2 separate regions of the Homo sapiens genome follow, and region 1 is linked to region 2. Evidence: promoter capture Hi-C in human tissues and cell types (Jung and others, 2019). All regions are on one chromosome and are shown on one strand. The core of a region is centred on a gene start or on the middle of the fragment in contact, and the rest is flanking DNA. Distances in the headings are between cores, read along the strand shown.

Region 1 (2,870 bases), core at 42-2,541, 85 kb after region 2:
AACAAAACATTTAACAACATCCTGCTGGCTGGATAACAGGCACCAACATATATAGCTGGTGGAACTGTGAACTGGTGCAATCTCTGTGGAGAGCAATTTAGCAGCATCTATTAAAATTACAGGTGTAAAAAAAATTTAGCTGTATATATCCTCGAAAGCATTTCCACTTCTAGGAATTTCACCTACAGATAAACTCCCAAATGTTATTCATTGCACCATTATTTATAATAACAGATGAATGGAAATCATCTATTTTATTTTTGTGTTTGTTTTTGTTTCTTGTTTATTTTATGCTTTTTTTTCTTTTTGTACTTTTTTCTAGATTGGAAACAATCTAACGTAAATGTCCATCGATAGGGGACTACTTTTTTTTTTTTTTTTTTGAGATGGAGTCTCGCTCTTGTTGCCCAGGCTGGAGTGCAGTGGCGCAATCTCGAGTCACTGCAGTCTCCACCTCCCGGGTTCAAGCGATTCTCCTGCCTCAGCCTCTCAGCCTTTTTTCTTTTTTCTTTTCTTTTCTTTTTTTTTTCTTTTCTTTTTTTAAGACGTAGTCTCGCTCTGTCACCCAGGCTGGAGTGCAGTGGCGTGATCTCGGCTCACTGCAAGCTCCGCCTCCTGGGTTCCCGCCATTCTCCTGCCTCAGCCGCCCAAGTAGCTGGGACTACAGGCCCCAGTCACCACGCCCTGCTAATTTTTTTTGTATTTTTAGTAGAGACGGGATTTCACCATGTTAGCCAGGATGGTCTCGATCTCCTGACCTCGTGATCCGCCCGCCTCGACCTCCCAAAGTGCTGGGATTACAGGCATGAGCCACCGCGCCCGGCCATTTTTTCTTTTTTTTAAGAGATGAGGTCACACTATGTTGACCAGACTGGTCTCGAACTCCTGGTCTCAAGAGATCCTCCCATCTTGGCCTCCCAAAGTACTGGAATTACAGGCGTGAGCCACTACACCCAGCCAATAGGGGACTACTTTAAAACATTATGGTTTAGCTATACAATGAACAACGTTATTAAACAAAAACAAGTTTAAGGAGTCAGGCAATATGATTCAGAGAAACTGCTCCCGGTATAGTGCAACTAAAATGCCGGAGAAGGCCAGGCACGGTGGCTCACGCCTGTAATCCCAGTACTTTGGGAGGCCGAGGTGGGCAGATCACCTGAGGTCGGGAGTTTGAGACCAGCCTGACCAACATGGAGAAACCCCGTCTCTACTAAAAATACAAAATTAGCTGGGCGTGGTGGCGCATGCCTGTAACTCCAGCTACCTGGGAGACTGAGGCAGGAGAATCGCTTGAACCCAGGAGGTGGAGGTTGTGGTGAGCTGAGATCACAGCATTGCACTCCAGCCTGGGCAACAAGAGCAAAACTCCATCTCAAAAAAAATGCTAGGGAACATATAAAAACATCTTTCTTTCCAGCACTTTGGGAGGCCAAGGCAGGTGGATCACGAGGTCAGGAAATTGAGACCATCCTGGCTAACACGGTGAAACCCCGTCTCTACTAAACAAAATACAGAATATTAGCCGGGCGCCTGGTGGTGGCGGGCGCCTGTAGTCCCAGCTTCTCGGGAGGCTGAGGCAGGAGAATGGCGTCAACCCGGGAGGCGGAGCTTGCAGTGAGCCCAGATCGCGCCGTTGCACTCCAGCCTGGGAGACAGAGCGAGACTAAGTTTCAAAAAAAAAACAAAAACAAAAAACAAAAAAAAAACACTTTCTGACGAATGGTTAAATAGGAAAAGTAAGAGAAATTCTTACTTTTTAAACTTTTTTTCATAGAAAGCTTTGAATCCACAGAAAGATAGAATAGCACAATGAACACTCGTAAACCCACAACCTAGGTGGCAATTGTTGATATTTTGCAACATTTTTCCATCTATATGAAAAAACATAATAATACATAATTACATATAAAGTACATATAATATATAAAGTAAAAACCAAGTATCATGATATTTCAACCCTAATTACTTCCCATACATGCTGAATAGTTTCCTCTTAAATTACCAATGTTCAGAGTTAAGAGTTGGTGTGATGCAGCCAACCGCTTCCAGCAGTGGCAAAGAGGGTTGGTTTTTATTTTGTCTTGTTTTTGCTTGTTTGGTTTTTATTTCTATTATTATTATTATTATTTTTTGAGACAGAGTCTAGCTCTGTAGCCAGGCTGGAGTGCAGTGGTGCAATCTCTGCTCACTGCAACCTCCCCCTCCCAGGTTCAAGCAATTCTCCTGCCTCAGCTTCCTGAGTAGCTGGGATTACAGGCACGTATGTGCTGCCACGCCTGGCTAACTTTTGTATTTTTAGTAGAGACGGGGTATCACCATGTTGGCCAGGATTGTCTTGATCTCCTCACCTCGTGACCCGCCCACTCAGCAAGTTACTGCATTGTTCATCGACAATACTTGGCCATCAAGAATGTTCACAAAATACTACAAATCAATGAATGTTTTCCCACGTTGTTATTAGGTTGAATCATGGGAAATAGACATTTTGTGGGTTAGAAAGCAACTTGATGAAGAGCATCCACAAAAAAACTACAGCTAACTATATACTTTATAGCGACAAACTTGAAGCTTTTCTGGTAAGATCAGGGACAAGGCAAGAATGTCCCCTCTCACCACTGCTTTTCAACATCCTACTGGAAGTTTTAGCCAACACAATAAGTTAATAAAAGGAAATAAAAGGCATACAGATGGGGAAAGAAGAAATAAAACTGTCTTTGTTTGCTAATGACATAATTTCCTAGGTAGAAAACCTGAAAGAATCAAAAAAGCTTTGGAAATAATAAGCAATTATACCAAGGCTGGAGGATACAGGTTAATATTCAAAAGTCAATCTTTTTTTTTTTTTTTTTTTTTTTTTGAGACAGAGT
Region 2 (2,718 bases), core at 185-2,684:
TCTGGCTGCGTTGGGTGGGTGTCTGGTGCTTCACCCCTTCTAGGCCAGGGATGCTCACCCCAGGACGATGAGTTCACCATACTTGATGGGCTCCTCGCCTGGCTGCGCATCTTCACCGGGAGAGGAGAGAACGCAAGAGCCCTTGTTCCCCCGGTGCTGGAGGTCTGAGGTTCGGGGGGACCCCACTTCAGGGTTTCCTTCCAGCACCATTCTGGGCAGAGTGGGAGAGAAAAGAGCTTTGTAGGTTCCCACCCCAGCCCGGCTCAATTCCAGCTGCAGCCTGCTGCAGGGCCGCCTAGGCTAAGGCAAGGGTGACCTTTCACCGCCTCTACTGCTATGGCAACCACTTCCCCTCTGCCTCCTCTAAACTGCCCGAGGTTGCTGGGATACCAGGGAGGGGTGGCACAGTGAAGAGAGTCAGGATATTCAGTGGTGCCAAAGAGATGGACCAACTTGGGGTGGCCAGAGGCTGCTTTTTGGCCAAGATCCCAGTCTGGGATGTGCTTCAAAGCGGGGCACCCAATGAGTTGGGGGCCGTTACCCCTCATCTCAGACTCAGTTCCTGCTTATAGCTCTTAGCCTCTGGACCTCTGATTTAGCCTCTCTGACAGGTTCTTTGAATCTACCTGTCCATCTGAATCTTTCTTGCCCCTTTGAGGTCTAGGCCTCTGTCTGTCCATCTGCTTTCTCAATGACTCTCTGTCCTCCCAGCCGCTGTCCTTTTTGCCGTCTCTCTCCCCCCATTCCCCATCTCTGCCTGTCTGCCCGCCTCCGCCTCACCATCTGCCTCAGTCTCCCCATCTCGGCCTCCCCCTGCGGGTAGGCCAATAGACTCCTCCTGGGTGCGCGCTCTTCCCTCCCTCAGGTGTCTGTCTGCGTCCCCAGCCGCCCGGGTCTCAGGAGGCCTGCGGAGGCGGCGCTCCCCCCTCGAGCTCGGGCTGCAGCACAGCCGTCTCCCGCAGGCAGCCCGTTTGGAAAACATCCCCGCGCCAGAGGGACCGCGCCGGGGCAGGCCCGCGCCCTGCGCCCCGGGCGGGCAGAACGGGAACCGCGGCCCAGCACCTACGCAGGTCCACACCCGGCGGCCCCTCCGCACAACACGCGCGCGTGCACGGCCCCGCACGCCCCGGGCCCGGACGGCGCAGAGACCACCCGCACCCGCGACCGCAGGGACGCGCGGGCGCGCAGCAGCCACCGGCGCCCGCCCTCGGACCCACTCCCTCCACCACCCCCAGACACGCAAACACGCCCCCCGCGCCCGCCGGGGCCCGCCTGGCGCAGCCCCCGCCCCCTCCGCCCCGGCGGCCTCACCTGGCCACGCTCCGGGCCCCGCTGGGCGCCGCTCCCTCCCCGCCTAGCCCCTGCTCGGCCCCGGGCCGCTGCGGCGGGATGGGCCCGGCCCGCGGCGGCTCCGCGCTGCCTCGTCACGGGGACACCCAGGGCCGGGGGAGGGGGATGAGCGCGAACAGCCACGCTCCGCCCCCTGTCCGGAGGCCCCGCCCCATTTTCCCCGCCCCTAGGAGAGCTCCGCCTCGCTCCAGACTCCGCCTCTTGCGGCGATGCTCAGCCTTCGTAGGCGGAGCTCCGCCCCTTCGCAGGAGACCACGCCCTTCCCCTGGTACCGCCCTCTGACCAGGGAAGCCCCGCTCTCCACTCCGTCTGAGGGACTCCCTTGCCCCTCCTAGCCGGCTCAGGACTCCCCCGTAGTCTACACGACCCCTCCCCCATTTCAGACTCCCCAAACTCCGCCTCCATTTCCGGGGACTCCGGGGTTCTCCCAGAGACATGGGCGCCCCTCCCCACTGTCGGTCAGGGCCCTCACACGGCGCTGGAGGCCCCTTCCCTAGCCTTAGGCCCGGGACTACGCACCCCCAGCTCCGACACCCCGCCTACCATCTGGGGACGCCACGCAATTAGAGGAGAGGAGGAAAATGCTAAAGGCAAAGGGGGTGTGCGGCAGCGGTGGAGGCCGGGGAAAGCAGCTGCAGTTGACCAGAGTCGCAGACCTGTCTTCCAGCCCAGCTCGGGCACCCCCCATTCCCCTCCCCTCAGTCCCCTCCCCTCCGCCAGGATGCACACACCCCCCGCTGTGCTGCAAAGGAAAGAGAGTTTTGGGGGAGCACCGCCCCTTCTGGGCCTGGGGCTTGCGAGAGATCTATCAGTCTACGTTAGGCGCTGTGCGCTGTGCTTTGAGCAAATTAAACCCTTTACTTTAATCCTGGGAGGCAGGCACGATAGTTGCCCATTTTACAGATGAGGAAATAGATTTACAAAAGTGACTTGCTTGTTGTAGTTTGCTAGAAACGGGCCAAGAGAGAATCTCAGCTGTATGAGTGGCTTCAGTCTCAACTCCTAACTTCGTACCTTGTCGTTCTGACTAGGGATGGAGCCTCAGAGGTGCAGAAGAGAAACCTTGTCTGCATCAGGTAAGGTCCCTATTGCTCAGTACTCTTGGTCTGGAACTATAAAGGCTGGATTATAGTTCCAGATCAAGTCTTTGGTCTTGTGGGGGGCGGTGGGGGTGTTTAATGAGAAAATCAAGGAAGACTGCACAGAGGAGGTGGCTTTTGACTTCCATTATGAAGGATGCATGTTTAGTTTGCCTAAACATTCCTGAGAGGGAGCCGCTGCCACTCCCACCCCCACAAACTTGTTGCACCTGAAGTTCCCCATCTACCAGACTCCCCTGGGGCCCTACTATATCCACCCCGCTAACTC

Evidence for each region. Contacts are between HindIII fragments. The study calls those that stand out against the background at their distance.
Region 1: a fragment that was not itself captured here is called in contact with the fragment with the promoter of PELI3 in region 2 in 2 of the 25 tissues and cell types used here (dorsolateral prefrontal cortex and lymphoblastoid cells).

What each region holds. Positions count from the first base shown.
Region 1 is chr11:66,379,899-66,382,768 of GRCh38, reverse strand. No RefSeq gene overlaps it. Among named protein-coding and RNA genes, the nearest start is that of SLC29A2, 9.6 kb to the right of the region's middle. RefSeq lists an enhancer at 1-216. The HindIII fragment of the contact is 5,232 bases long and covers 1-2,870 here.
Region 2 is chr11:66,465,621-66,468,338 of GRCh38, reverse strand. PELI3 (pellino E3 ubiquitin protein ligase family member 3) reads right to left here and starts at 1,434. Exons shown (of 8, transcript NM_145065.3): 1 at 1,312-1,434; 2 at 59-211. The coding sequence starts at 210. RefSeq lists silencers at 947-1,296, 1,307-1,516 and an enhancer at 2,468-2,718. The HindIII fragment of the contact is 25,810 bases long and covers 1-2,718 here.